Regions from separate parts of the Homo sapiens genome. Here region 2 is linked to region 1. The links are contacts of gene promoters, found by promoter capture Hi-C in blood cells and fetal thymus (Javierre and others, 2016). All regions are on one chromosome and are shown on one strand. The core of a region is centred on a gene start or on the middle of the fragment in contact, and the rest is flanking DNA. Distances in the headings are between cores, read along the strand shown. Region 1 holds the start of SORT1 (sortilin 1). Region 2 overlaps WDR47 (WD repeat domain 47).

What was found. The method cuts DNA at HindIII sites, captures the fragments that hold promoters and counts their contacts. A CHiCAGO score of 5 or more calls a contact.
Region 2: a contact is called between a fragment that was not itself captured here and the fragment with the promoter of SORT1 in region 1, in 1 of 17 cell types (M2 macrophages). The highest score is 6.2, in M2 macrophages.

The regions. Positions count from the first base shown.
Region 1 is chr1:109,394,810-109,402,438 of GRCh38, reverse strand. SORT1 (sortilin 1) reads left to right here and starts at 4,521. Exons shown (of 20, transcript NM_002959.7): 1 at 4,521-4,852. The coding sequence starts at 4,547. PSMA5 (proteasome 20S subunit alpha 5) reads left to right here. Exons shown (of 9, transcript NM_002790.4): 9 at 349-3,397. The coding sequence ends at 426. RefSeq lists an enhancer at 3,387-4,368 and silencers at 4,395-4,524, 4,565-4,634, 4,645-4,744. The HindIII fragment of the contact is 10,275 bases long and covers 3,494-7,629 here.
Region 2 is chr1:109,019,517-109,027,145 of GRCh38, reverse strand. It overlaps WDR47 (WD repeat domain 47), which reads left to right. Exons shown (of 15, transcript NM_001142551.2): 2 at 3,625-3,791. The coding sequence starts at 3,634. Among named protein-coding and RNA genes, the nearest start is that of WDR47, 19 kb to the left of the region's middle. The HindIII fragment of the contact is 648 bases long and covers 3,066-3,713 here.

The sequences.
Region 1 (7,629 bases), core at 3,272-5,771:
TTTCTAAAGGAGTCTTTAACAGAAAAAAGTACTGACTCCATGTACTTTGCTGCTGCTTTTGTGATCCCTGTTGAAGTGACTTCAAGAAGTGACAATGATGCCAGGCATTTGGTTAAGTATGATGTGGTGAGTTAACCTTAAAATAGAAAATTTGGTCAATAAGCATTTTTATTTTGGAGCCAGAGAGCTATTTTAGGGACCTGCTGCCTGGAAAGGATATCCTTGGGACAGCAGATCCCTTAGTTCCTAATGAATAGCTGCATCACCAACACAGCTTCTCCTGACCATGGTAGGGCCATCAGCAGGGTAACTCAGCCCAGCTTATTAACCCTTCTGTTTTCTTTCCAGCTAGCCACAGTGCAGCCTGGCCAGAATTTCCACATGTTCACAAAGGAAGAACTTGAAGAGGTTATCAAGGACATTTAAGGAATCCTGATCCTCAGAACTTCTCTGGGACAATTTCAGTTCTAATAATGTCCTTAAATTTTATTTCCAGCTCCTGTTCCTTGGAAAATCTCCATTGTATGTGCATTTTTTAAATGATGTCTGTACATAAAGGCAGTTCTGAAATAAAGAAAATTTTAAAATATTTGTTAATAGACTGTTCTCTTCTAATAGTCTTTTTTTTTTTTTTTTTTTTAAGAGATGAGGTCTCACTATATTGCCCAGGCTGGTTTCAAACTCCTGGGTTCAAGTGATCTTCCCGCCTCTGCCTCCTGAAGTGCTAGGATTATAGGCGAGAGCCACTGTGCCCAGCCATTGTAATACAGTCTTTTGTTTGAAATGCAAATGTTAGTGGGCCAAAAGGACAGTGTTATTAATATCCCTATTCTATGAAGATGTCTGTTCTAAAACTGTTTTAGTGATGCTCTATAACAGAATCAACTATATCCATTAATCCCATGGTGTTGATAAATGAACTAGTCCAGCTCTTCCCAGTGGTTAATAGATGTTAACAGCACTGTAAATCCATTTCGGCCCTATAATTTCTGGAGCAAACGTGTATTTTTGCTGCTTTTCTTATAAGGAGATGCTACTAATTGACTATCAGAAGAACATGTTTTGAGGTCCTCCTCAAAACATTGATGGGTTGGAATCAGCCATCAACAGTGTTGTACCAGTTCTTGGGTCTTGATAGACAATTTGGAAAGAGATTTCCTTGTTTACGAAGTGAAGGACTAAGAATTAAATTAATGACCTTGGCCTCACTGGCAATCAATTACAAATCTCTATATCAGTAAGAGAATTGTAAAATTCAGAAGCAGTTTACATTAGACTTTGGAATGAATGATGAACTTTCCCCATTAGAGCTGCCATCATATGATTGGTGGAGATTGTTTAAAGAATCATTCTATCTCAGCCTCAAAAATTACCACGGGAAGATGGTATCAGTATCACTACTTAACAGATGAAGAATCTAATGCTGTGTGCCCATGGACACACAAAATTAAGCTGTTGGGACTTGAACAGCTCAAATTTTCTTGTTTCAGATCACCAGCTCTTGAGTAATAGGGAAATCTGGAGATTTGAAAAGTACTTGCACTGTCCACAACATGGCTAATCCATATGTGGATGATGCAGAATTGATTTAATTCACTAACAGGGACCCCATAATTATTTGCTGGGCTCTGGGTATATTGATGTGTAGGAAGTTGTACTATATGTTAATAAATTATGACTATTTGGATAGGCTGAATTCATACTAAATCCATACTGTAGTTCAACAAAAAACAACATGTTTATATACATTTGGAAACTGCAATGATAGGAAACATTTGGAAGAAAGGGATTTTGCCCTAGAATAACACATAAGGAAAGCAGAGAATTAGAGTATATTGTTACTGAATGTTCCAGAGACTTCTAGTGATTTTAACACTTATTAAGTATAGCATGTTGATGGGGAGATTTGTTTCTCTAAAGATCACTTTGTTTTATTAAATCCTAATAGAAAATACCCTTGAAAATCCTATCTCATTTATTCCTGTAACAAATTTATTGAGCACCTACCTACTATATGCCAAGAAATGTATTAGCCATCAGGCAGAGAGCTGTTCAAATGGTAGATATGATCTGTGCTCCTGTGAAACTTCTAGTGGGGAGAGCCAAACAATAAACAATATTCCTTTTTAACTCTAGGTTAATGCAGAAATGGATAAAGCCCATGTTGCTTTTGGGAGAGGTGAGTTGTGTCTCTGAATCACATGCATTTCATAGGGGGAAAAATGCCCAAATACTAAGGAGTAGCTCTTAGCCTATGTCCGTTCGCCTCAGCTTAAGTTGTTTTCCCTCCCACTGGCTGGGCAGCATATTTGTGTTTTACCTGGTAAAACAGTAAATTTCGTACCTTCTATAATTGGCATTCTTCAAAGAGGTAGAACTTTGATTTTTTTGTAGAATATTAAAACAAGCTTTCTTAGGTTAAAGAAGTGATCTTACTACGAACAGCAATGGTTTCATGATGTGTAATTGCTTTATGTTATCTTTCTGCTATAGAATGTTTCCTGGAGAAAGGTACGGTTTTTAGTAATAAGATAAATTTACTTTAGTCCTGCAAATAAGGTGAAATCTTATGTCCAGTATCTCACAAAGGAGAACTGACAGTGCCACTTTTATATTTAATGTCAATCTCATTAGACAAAAATGAAATATAGTTCCTAGGGTTTCCAATTTAAAAAGTGAAATAATAAATATATTCACTCAAACATTTTCTCAGTGCCATATGCAAGTTACCATGTCCCAGAAGCTGATACAGTTTGAAGAAGGAAATATATAAGTACTGTAAGCCTGTGATAACTAAAAGCAACATACTAAAAAGTGAAGGTACAGATAATTGGAACAAATTTAATAGCGTTTAAAAGTGTATTTGGTAATTTCTCCAGGAGGTGGCACTGTTGAGTTGTTTTTTCTTTTCAGACAGTAAGACAATAGACCATTCATCTTTGTGTCACCCAAACAAAGAAATATTCCTTTATAACCCCCTTTCCTCCCCCCACCTAATCACATGCTACTGGAACTGACTGTCTTGTGATCTACTCCCATAGTTGGCATAGATTTAAAAATAATCTTTTTTAAATTAATCTGATAGTAGTTATGGAAAGGAACAAATTGTTCACCAATTTTCATCAGCTTTATCTTTTCAGTCCAGTAACTGAGAACTTAAAAAGACTATTCTAGTGATTTTACTATCCTGCTCAGATGGCATTCAAAAACATTTTTCACTTCTCACGTCTTGGAAAAATTTGTAAATTCGTTAAGTCTTTTTGTTTGAAAGTTAATGTGACTGGAAATATTTTAATGTAAATATCGGGTTGGGTGCATTGTATCATTTTGCTCTACAATGACTATATCCTCATTTGGGTTTATGGCCAGTTTATAATTAAAAGTAATCTTTACTTGCTTTGAGTGTAATGACTTGCATATTTTGTATCTTTCTATTTGCTACCTTTTCTACTGAACAATTTCTAGCTTTCTGAAGGGATGGAGTCAGTAAGCTTAAGGATTCAGAACTGGTTTTACCTGTGCTACGTGTTGTAGAAGTTGTGTGTGCAGCTTCTGCGGTAAAGGGAACAGCGTAGGGGTTTTATTTTATTCATTAGAGGTGGATCGGGGTGCTAATTTAGAGGACATCACATACTGGAACCAAACTTGTCCGAAGCTCTCACTGCAGAGTTAAGGCACTTTGGTAAAATAAATGTGCATCTAGGAAATGATCATGTGTACAGTAGGCATTGGATCATTCTCTTGCCCCTCTTTTACCTGCCCCTAATGCCTAAGCTACATTCGAAGTCCTGGAAAACCTGTAAGTAATTCCGCCTTTGGCCTACCTCCCCTCAGAAGAGGAAGGTGAGAGAGGCCAAACGTATGGAAAGACTATTCTTCAGGCTTGCAGGAGTCACGGATGTCCTGATGTCTGTCTCCGTAGGATGTGGCCCACATCAGTTCGCATTCACCTTCTTGCAGCAAGGCAGCTGCTTAGCAGACAATGGGCGCTCCAGTGAGCGGGGTTTATAAAAACCCGAAGCCCCGGTTCATGATGGAGCCCCCTTTTCCAGCTGAGCAAGCTCAGGGATTTCCTGGGTAGGTTTTTCCAGGCTCTGCCTCACCGAAGGAATTTTAGGAGTGTCTCTGGGGAACAGGAGGGACGTAACCCAGCCCCAACTTGAGGGCGCTAGAGGTGCGGCAAGGGGTCGCGACGCCAGGAGCCCGGGGCTCGGCGGGAAGGTATGAGAAGCTCCTACGTGAACTCCACAAGCCGGGCCCGGGAGACGCCGGGCGAGGCGGGGTTGACCTCAGCAGTCTCTGCCCCGTTCCAGCCAATCAGTCCCGCATCTTAGCATCCGAATCCAGGACCCCCGAAGCCGGAGGCGACGCGAGCCAATGAGGAGTGGGCCGGGGAAGAGGGACAGGCGGCCAGCCTATGGGGCGGAGAGGCCCGGCCGCGCGTATCCAAGGAGCGCCGCGCTCGGCTCGGGGGTGTGGCGCGCGCCGGCGGGGGTGGGCGGGCGCGCCGGGCGGCAGGTGTCGGCGTCGGCGGCATTCGGCGGCGATGGAGCGGCCCTGGGGAGCTGCGGACGGCCTCTCGCGCTGGCCCCATGGCCTCGGCCTCCTCCTCCTCCTGCAGCTGCTGCCGCCGTCGACCCTCAGCCAGGACCGGCTGGACGCGCCGCCGCCGCCCGCTGCGCCGCTGCCGCGCTGGTCTGGCCCCATCGGGGTGAGCTGGGGGCTGCGGGCGGCCGCAGCCGGGGGCGCGTTTCCCCGCGGCGGCCGTTGGCGTCGCAGCGCGCCGGGCGAGGACGAGGAGTGCGGCCGGGTCCGGGACTTCGTCGCCAAGCTGGCCAACAACACGCACCAGGTGAGCGGGCGCCGGGCCCGGGAGCCGCTCGGGTGCGAGGTGCCGCCCGCGTGCCCCTCCCGGCCCGTGCGCCCCGCGACTCCCGGAGGAGACCCCAGCCCTGCCGCGCCCGCGTCCCCCGGGCCGCAGCCCCGAAACTGCGGCGGGCGGGCGGGCGGAGTCGGGCCCGGGCGGCCGGCGGGGCTGTGTTTTGTCATAGGGGAGGCAATCTTAGACTTCCACCGCATTCTTTTTTTTTTTTTTAAGTTGTCAAAATCTCTTGAACATCGTTTTTCGTCTGTATAAATAATCAGGACCCAGTAACGCTGTTAGGCCCCAGGAAGGTGAAGGAGTAATTAACTCTTGAGCGCTTGCAGAAGTTGGGCTGCGCAGAAGCAAAGGTGTGTCCTCTCTGGGTCAGTACTTTCCGGGTGGGAGAGGCGGGAGTTCAGGAGGCCCGAAGCAGCGATCTGGTCACCGTGTTTTAATAGTTAAGGGGACTAGCTTGGAAATGAGATGGCAATATTTATGTGATCTCTTTTACTGCTTCAGATTTGACCTTCTGTCATGGTACGGAAGTCTGACTAGCATGTCTATATCCCGTGGTGACAAGATTTTCAATAGTTAAGAAACGCATTGCACATATTCTGCTTTGAGCCAGCTCTTGGTCAAAAGACTTTCAAAATTATGGGATTTCTGTCCCTGGGGACAAGCAGCTCAACCTTTGCACACTACTGGACTGACAAAACTAATTATTAAGAAAGTCCTGGTTCCTTGCTTCAGCACAACTTGGGCATCTTTCTCCTATTTCTCTAAAATTAACAATTTAATCCTTGCTAGCCACATTTGCATAATGTATTTTCAATTCTATATATTTTCTCCCTTGCCTGTTTTCCTCTTTCAAAGAAAATGAATTGCACTTGGGGGCAGAGATGGGTGGCCAAGGCTCTGTGCCAGCACTTGTCCTTCTGTAACCGTTTTTCAGCGTCAGCCAAGCCTCAGTCTCCCTTTGGACTGCCTGGTTATCTGGACCATACTTGTTACCTGTAATAGAATTCTCTGATCTGAGGACACAAGACACAAATATTCAGGAATAATTGTGCTTAGTGTATCCCGAGCAGCAGCTGTGTAAAGGTAGCCAAGCTAGTGCTGGAGGGTGAGACAGGTTGGGTAGAATGAGTACTGGGAAGTCTTCCTACTTGATGAGAAAAAAAAATCGAATAGACTTCCTTCTCACAGTGGGGGATTGAGAAAGGCTTTACAACACTAATGCTTAATTTATACTGGACCACTTCCTTCCTTGAGCTAGCTGGTCACAGCATTCTTGCTCCATATTTCAAATTCTTCTCTCGCTGGTTGACCTAACTTTAGGTCTGCTGCTACTCCTGGATTTAGATTTACTCCTGTTTTTCTTTTTCTCTTTTTTTGTGAGATAGAGTCTTACCTCAGCCTCCTGAGTAGCTGGGACTACAGGTGTGCACCACTATGCCTAGCTAATTTTTGTGTAATTACTATTTTTTTTTTGAGATAGGGTCTCACTCTGTTGCCCAGGCTGGAATGCAGTGGTGTGATCACAGCTCACTGCAGCCCTGACCTCCTGGGCTCAAGTGATCCTCTCACCTCAGCCTCCCAAGTAGCCGGGACTACTGGTACATGCACCCAGCTAATTGTTCTTTTCTTTCTTTCTTTCTTTTTTTAAGAAACAGGGTTTTGCCATGTTCCCCAGGCTGGTCTTGAACTCCTGGGCTCAAGTGCTCCACCCACCTTAGCCTGCCACAGTGCTGAGATTAGAGGCGTGAGCCACTATGCCCTGCCTGGATTTATTCCTTGAGTCAGAGTCTTCCTGGTTAGTTTGAATTGATGTGTCATTTGTAATATATTGATTCCAAAGAAAGAGGTTGAAAAAACTGGCTCAGGGGTTCTAAGGCCAAATCTGTGGAAGAGTAGACCTAAAACCACTCATTCTTTGAAGTCCACATGTAAAGAAATTTTCTTCTATTTCTTTCATTTAGCTGTTTGCAATAATTTTTTTTTAGTTTTTCTCTCCCAGTCTTTTTTTCAGTGACCTTATTTAAAATAGCTATTTTGGCTGGGCACGGTGGCTCATGCCTGTAATCTTATCAATGTGGGAGGCCAAGGCAGGTGGATCACTTGAGGTCAGAAGTTCAAGACTAGCCTGGCCAACATGGTGAAACCCTGTCTCTACTAAAAATACAAAAGTTAGCCAGACGCGGTGGCATGCGCCTGTAATTCCAGTTATTCTGGAGGCTGAGGCATGACGATCACTTGAACCCAGGAGGCAGAGGTTGCAGCGAGCCGAGATCGCACCGTTGTACTCCAGCCTGGGTGACAGAGTGAGACTCTATCTCAAAAAAAAAAAAAAAAAAAAAAAAAAAAAAGTTTTTGCGTTTGTTAGTCATCCGTGGTCTCTTCTTCAGAGATCTCATCCTTTCTGTATCTGGTTAAAAAAAAAAAAAGTGGAGCCTTTGTTTAATATCATTTACCTTAAAAATGGTTAAGTAGTACTTCTTAACCAAGAATTGTTATGTAGTAGCCTGTTCTTCTGTTTATTTATTTGGTTTTAGAAGTCATAAAAAATCCTGAACTGTATTGAAGAGATCTAGTATTTTTGGACCGTTTATAAAACAGTGTGAAATAAAAGCATCAGCATGACAGAACAACTTTTTATCAGAGATATTGTACTTTGTACAACTGGGGAAGGAAGGTACATGTAGAATCATTTTTCCTACATAACATGACAGGATTCGAGTCCCAAGAAAAAGCAAAAGTTCATGGTT
Region 2 (7,629 bases), core at 2,140-4,639, 370 kb after region 1:
GAGGCGGAGGTTGCAGCCAGCCGAGATTGCCACTGCACTCCAGCCCGGGCAACAGAGGGAGACTCTGCCTTAAAAAAAAAAAATTCTGTGTTGGGTGATTAAAATATATTATTCTACTGGGAATTTCAAGGTATAGAATTAAAACTTGTCTTTTTTTAATTAGTTTTTTTTTAAAAAGAAAACTTGAACCAATTTTAAGTTAATTAGGACATATTTTCTGTTACCTTCAACTGTCAGTATAAAATATGTATTTGTAAGAATGTAGTTCTCTTAGGCTTTATTAACCAAAAATGACTGCAACATTAAACTTGTAGTTATTATTTAAAGTGGGACTATTGCCATAAATTCCATTCAGAGTAACTTTATATCTGGACTGATATTTAGATTGAATGTTGAATATGAAGCCTATACAATGTTTAGTATCATTGGTATATTGAGCTATATTAGAAAATTATAGTCCCAATTGTGCATTAAGTTTGTGTGGTTGGTACATGGAGATATATGTGATGTGCCCTCTAAGAACCTACAGAGGAGGGAATATTTTTTTCTGAGAGTTAAATTAGTAAAAGCCATTTTTTTGCTAGTAAGAATTACCTGAAGGGCTACTCTGGGCACACTGCCTATTGGGTAGCCTGCTCTGCAAGGAGCAGTAAAAATAAAAAAAAGAATTGTCTAAAGATTTGAGGAATGCTAAAATCACTAATCAGTGTGCTCTAAGAATAATATTAGGGAGACAGTTCTGATATGATCAGAATTTAATGAGTAGTTTCCACGGATAACCTGAAAAAAAAAAAAAGGTGGGCACGGTGGCTCATCCCTGTAATCCCAACACTTTGGGATGCCGAGGCGAGAGGATTGCTTGAGCCCAGGAGTTCGAGAGCAGCCTAGGCAACATAGGTAGATCCCGTCTCTACAAAAAGTAAAATAAAAAATTAGCTGGGTACGGTGGCACACACCTGTCATCCCAGGTACTTGGAAGGCTGAAGCGGGAGGATCACTTGAGCCTGGGAGGTCAAGGCTGCAGTGGGCCATGGTCATGCAACTGCACTCTAACCTAGGTGACAGAGCAAGACCCTGTCTTTAAAAAAAAAAAAAGAATTTAGTGAGTGGAAATCTTAACTTATTTTACCGTATCCTCTTTTGGACGAAGTCTGTGAACAGGAGGATGGTGGTCAGCTCAGAAGATAGGAAAGGGAAACCTAAAGCATGCGGAGTTGGGTAGCTGGTGTGTTGGGAGATAAGTTTGTGATTTACTGTTTCCTGAGACAGACATATTCTTACTCTGCAGAGGGATTTGTGTAGTCTGATGTCATTAAATATTTGAGTGAGTCGTATAATTATTTTTCTGTGGTTTGTCCCTTGTTTACCCTAGCGCCACTTTTTTTTATTTGTTAGTTTTTTTTTCTTTTTCCGAGATGGAGTCTGGCTCTATTGCCCAGGCTGGAGTGCAGTGGCACAATCTTGGCTCACTGCAACCTCCGCCTCCTGGGTTCAAGCAATTCTCCTGCCTCAGCCTCCCAAGTAGCTGGGATTACAGGTGCGTGCCACCACGCTCCGCTAATTTTTGTATTTTTAGTAGAGGTGGGGTTTCACCATGTTGGCCAGGCTGGCCTCAAACTCCTGATCTCATAATCCACCCGTCTCAGCCTCCCAAAGTGCTGGGATTACAGGTGTGAGCCACTGTGCCCAGCCTTCTTTTTTTTTTTTTTTTTTTTGAGGCAGAGTCTCACGCTACCGCCCAGGCTGGAGTGCAGTGGTATGATCACCGCTCACTGTAGCCTCAACTTCTGGGGCTCCAGTGATCTTTCCACCTCAGCCTCCTGAGTAACTGGAACTACAGGCACACATGCTGGCTGATTGTTATATTTTTGGTAGAGACCATGTTTCGCCATGTTGCCCAGGCTTGTCTCGCACTCCTGGGCTCATGTGATCCTCCCACCTCGACCTCTCAAAGTGCTGGAACTACAGGTGTGAGCCACCATGCCCAGGCCTCTAGCTGAGGGAGAAAATGTACTCATCTGCTGATGAGAGCATTCTAGTCTGCTAGACATTTGCATTTCTTGTTATAAACAAAAAAATCAACCCAAAAGTAAAGAAATGGAAACAACACTAACCTGTGGGCCTACATATATTTTTTGTTTTGTTTTGTTTAGAGACATGGTCTTCCTCTGTTGTTCAGAGGTGTGCAGTGGTGTGATCATAGCTCACTGTATGTAACTTCTAACTTCTGGGCTCAAGCGATCCTCCTGCTTCAGCCTCCCAAAGTGCTGGGACTACAGGCGTGAGTCACTACACCCAGTCCACATGTGTATGTTTATGTTTCTGCAAGCTTGGTTAGAATAAGTTGGTCCTGTGAGAAAGATATGCTTATAGTCTGTTTCATCTGATGAAGTTTCTTTGTGGCTACTCCCCTAGTGTGGTGGTATTTTGCATTGCTCTGAACCTTAACATTTGAAAACTGTAACAGTTTAGGCCATTTAACTTGTGTGGCTTCACTGGTAAAATTAGAATGTTGAACAAATGATCTTATAGTCCTCCCAGGTCTAAATCTTTATGGATTCATAACCTGAGCATTATGTGCTCAGTTGTAGCAGACCTACAGGTAAGAGTTAGAAGGAAGCTTAGAGAGTATTGAAATATCACTGATATTACCCATATGACTAAAGTTGCACTTTTTTCTTTCTTTTTTTTTTGAGACGGAGTCTAATTCTGTTGCTCAGGCTGTAGTGCAGTGGCACGATCTTTGCTCACTGCAGCCTTGATCTCCTGGGCTCAAGCGATCCTCCCACCTCAGCCTCCAGAGTGCTGGGACTATAGACACACACCATCTTGCCCTGCTAATTTTTTAATTTTTTTTGTACAGATGTGGTTTTGCCATGGTTCCCAGGCTGGTCTCGAACTCCTGAACTCAAGCAGTCCCTCCACTTTGGCCTCCCAAAGTACAGGGATTACAGGCGTACGCCACTACACCTGCCCTAAAGTTGCACATCTTAACTAACCTTGTTTTGTTTGGCTCCGCTGTACTGACCAGGTCATCATTTAGGTATTACTGCTAGACTAAAGCTTCTTAAAGCAAGGCCAATGTCTCCTGAGTACAGAATCATGTCTGTCACAGAGAAAAGGCATTAAGTACTTATTGAGTGAATGTATTAGAGCATACCTGGGACAATGTATTTGGGACATAGCTAAACATGGTTTGGTTATTAATGACTTTTTAAAATATTCTCTATTATGGAAAATTTTAAACATGTAGGAGTAGACAGGATTATATAATAAACCCTCATTTACCTATTACCCTGCTTCAGTAACCATAATCATTCTTGTTTCATCTTTATCTCTTCCCACTCTTCTCTTCTATTATTTTCATGTAAATCACAAAGTTTATATCATTTAATCTGTAATTATTCCAATATGTATTTCAAAGATAAGGACTTTAAAAAATCATGGCCATACCATTGTCACATATTAAAGAACGACTTGGTTTTGATAAATACTAAGTTAACTTCACTTCAGAATATGTGTACTAAAGATTCCCAGTAAACCTGTTATGTGTAGTTGCCAGGCAGTTAAACTTAGAAATAAATCAATAGGACTAGCTTTATTGTTTTTCTGTTTCATATTTAGGCTATCAATATGACGGCTGAAGAAACAGTGAATGTAAAAGAGGTTGAAATCATTAAGCTAATTTTGGACTTCCTGAATTCAAAGAAGCTTCACATTAGTATGCTGGCCCTGGAGAAGGAAAGTGGAGTCATAAATGGCCTGTTTTCAGATGATATGCTTTTCCTGAGGTATGATTTCATTATACTGTGAAGTTTGTAGCTCCTTCGAAGAAATGTTAAGTATTAATAAGGTAATATATATAATACAGATAGAACTTTATAATCATGAAAAGGCTATGTAAGTATAATTTTAAAAAATATTTTATTTTATTTTATTTTTTGAGACGGAGTCTTGCTCTGTCACCCAGGCTGGAGTGCAGTGGCGAGATGTCGGCTCACTGCAAGCTCCGCCTCCCGGGTTCACGCCATTCTCCTGCCTCAGCCTCCTGCGTAGCTGGGACTACAGGCGCCCATCACCACGGCCAGCTAATTTTTGTATTTTTAGTAGAGATGGGGTTTCACCATGTTAGCCAGGATGGTCTCGATCTCCTGACCTCGTGATCTGCCCACCTTGGCCTCCCAAAGTGCTGGGATTACAGGCGTGAGCCACCGCACCCGACCTAAAAAAATATTTTAAAAATAGAACATTTACAAAATAGGCTGGGCGTGGTGGCTCACGCCTGTAATCCCAGCACTTTGGGAGGCTGAGGCAGGCGGATCACTTGAGGTCAGGAGTTTTGAGACCAGCCTGGCCAACATGGTGAAATCCCGCCTCTACTAAAAATATAAAAATTAACCGGGCATGGTGGCACATGCCTGTAATCCCAGCTAGTCGGGAGGCTGAGGCAGGAGAATCATTTGAACCAGGGAGACGGAGGTTCCAGTGAGCTGAGATCGCACCGTTGCACTCCAGCCTGGGCAGCAGAGTGAGACTCCGTCTCAAAAATACAAAAATAAAAAAAAGGAACATTTACAAAATAATGCTTTCTGTAGAATGTTTTCAGTAGTAAGACCCAGAGGTCTGTTAAAAAGAACAAGAGTCATCACTCCATTGTGGTTGTGGTATGATAATAAAAGATATTTGACTAAGAAAATCGGACTTTGAAAAGGTAAAGAAAATGTTTCTGAAATACCATTTTTTGGCCATAGAAATAAGATGTGTTCATTATAGAAAATATAGAAAGATAAATAAAAGAAAAATTACCCCACCACACAGACATAATATTGTTCTTATTCCTTGCTGTTTTCATTCTTAGAGTGTAAATTCTGTGCATCTTTTTTTTGCATCTATTAAAAATAACAATTCTGTTGTGTTTATGATTTAGAATCATGCCTTATCTATTAACATCACAAGGTTTCTCTGTGTGATTACAAACTTATATTTAAAAAATTTTCAGGCTGGGCATGGTGACTCAAACCTGCAATCCTAGCCATTTGCGAGTCCAAGGCAGGCGGATCACCTGAGGTCAGGAGTTTGAGACCAGACTGGCCAACGTAGTGAAACCCCGTCTCTACTAAAAATACAAAAATTAGCTGGGTGTGGTGGTGCATGCCTCTAGTCCCAGCTACTCGAGAGGCTAAGGCAGGAAAATCACTTGAGCCCGAGAGGCAGAGGTTGCAGTGAGCCATGATGGTGCCACTGTACTCCAGCCTGGGCGACAGAGCAAGACTAAATAAATAAATAAATAATAAATTAAATAAATAATAAATTAAAAAAGGCCAGGCGTGGTGGCTTACGCCTGTAATCCCAGCACTTTGGGAGGCTGAGCCGTGTGGATCACTTAAGGTTAGGAGTTCGAGACCAGCCTGGCCAACGTGGTGAAATCCCGTCTCTATTAAAAATACTAAAATTAGCTGGGCATAGTGGTGCATGCCTGTAATTCCAGCTACAAATAAAAAATTTCAGTTTACTTAATTTCCTAATGGCTCCCCTAATTTTAAACAATTGTTCCCAATTTATCTTAAATAATTGCTCTACAGAACATTTTATACTTGCGCCTTTTTTTTTTTTTTTTTGAGATAGAGGCTTGCTTTGTCACCTAGGCTGGGGTGCAGTGGCATGATCTCAGCTCACTACAACCTCCACCTCCTGGGTTCAAGTGATTCTCTCGCCTTAGCCTCCCAGGTAGCTGGGACTACAGGTGCACACCACCACGTCCGGCTAATTTTTGTATTTTTAGTAGAGGCAAGGTTTCACCATTTTGGCAAGGCTGGTCTCAAACTCCTGACCTCAGGTGATCTGCCTGCCTCGGCCTCCCAAAGTGCTGGGATTACAGACATGAGCCACTGCACCTAGCTGAGACTTTTTCTATATATTGGATTATTTCCTTAGGACAAGATTCTTAGAGGTGGAATTGCAAGGCAAAGTGAAGTAACATGTTTGCCAAAATGGAAAGCTAAATATATTCTAGTCTGAATTGGATAGAAACGGAAAATCCCAAATTTGCAGGCAGAAGTGTATTCTATTTTTATGAGATACCAAATATCCTTGACAAGAAGTACAGATTCTTGGACATGTGGCATTTTGTGACTTGGAAAGCCTCAAGAAATGAAGTGTTCCTCCCAGGAGGCAGAGGTTTCAGTGAGTTGAGATCGTACCATTGTATTCCAGCTTGGGCGACAAGAAGGAAACTCCATCTCAGAAAAAAAAAAAAAAATGAAGTGTTCCTAGCTTATGAAAAGGAACCATTCAACAACAACAACAATAACAGCAATAACAAAGCTTTATTATATTAGGGGACTCTATTTAAACTTGTTGCACTTCCCTATATTTTGTGTTATGAATATCATCCAGCCCCAGGGAGCTTAGTTAATAGTGTAGTATTTTTTTAAGCACTATCTTTGAAGCATTAATACTCCTAGAAGTTAACAGTGGCAGCTCTCAAGTACCCTCCTGCTTGATTTATGATGAAATTTTACTGGTCTGAGGTGAAATGCAAAGAATAATAAAATAGTAGGTTTTTCATTAAACTAAATATGTTCGGCTGGGCACAGTGGCTCACGCCTGTAATCCCAGCACTTTGGGAGGCCAAGGTGGGTGGATCACGAGGTCAGGAGATCGAGACCATCCTGGCTAATGCGGTGAAACCCCCCGTCTCTACTAAAAATACAAAAAATTAGCCAGGCGTGGTGGCGGGTGCCTGTAGTCCTAGCTACTTGGGAGGCTGAGGCAGGAGAATGGTGTGAACCCAGGAGGCAGAGCTTGCAGTGAGCCGAGATCGTGAGCTTGCAGTGAGCTGAGATCGTGCCACTGCATTCCAGCCTGGGCGACAGAGCAAGACTCTGTCTCAAAAAAAAAAAAAAAAAAACAACTAAATATGTTCATCTTAAAGGGCTTGCCTTTGAAATTGTGTCCTTTCTTACATTTTAAATATTGAAATGCACCTTTATAAAATGATTATGATATACAGTGATTGCCTTATTTTTATTTAAAAAATTTCTTTATGTTAATTTTTTTTTTATAAAGGTAGGATCTTGCTATATTGCCCTTGGCTGATCTTGAACTCCTGGCCTCAAATGATTCTCCCACCTTGGCCTCCCAAAGTGCTAGGATTTACAGGCATGAGCCACTGTGCCCATCTTGCTTTTATTAATATTTCTTCTTTGCAGCATATTGTTAATCCTATGTAGGTCTTCCTGCCCATCCTTCCCATTTAAAATTTCTCTGTTCTAAAACATTCAAAAATAGGGAAATTGCCGTTGTGTAAGAAAAGATGTAAGAATGCCTTGTAACTTTTGGATATTCCCATAGACCATTTAAAGTAGGATGAAACTTGTTCTTATTCCTTGCTGTTTTCATTCTCAGTGTAAACTGTATTCTCAAAGCTGTAGATTTCACATAGAATTCACAATGTAGAGCAGAGTTTCTCAGCCTTGGCACTGCTAGCATCTGGGCCAGATAATTCTTTGTTGTGGAGGGTTGTCCTTTGTTGTAGGATGTTAACGGCATCCCCAACTAGATCCCAGTAGATCTACCCACTAGATCCCAGTAGTATCCCCAGTTGTGACTACCAAAAATGTCTTTAGA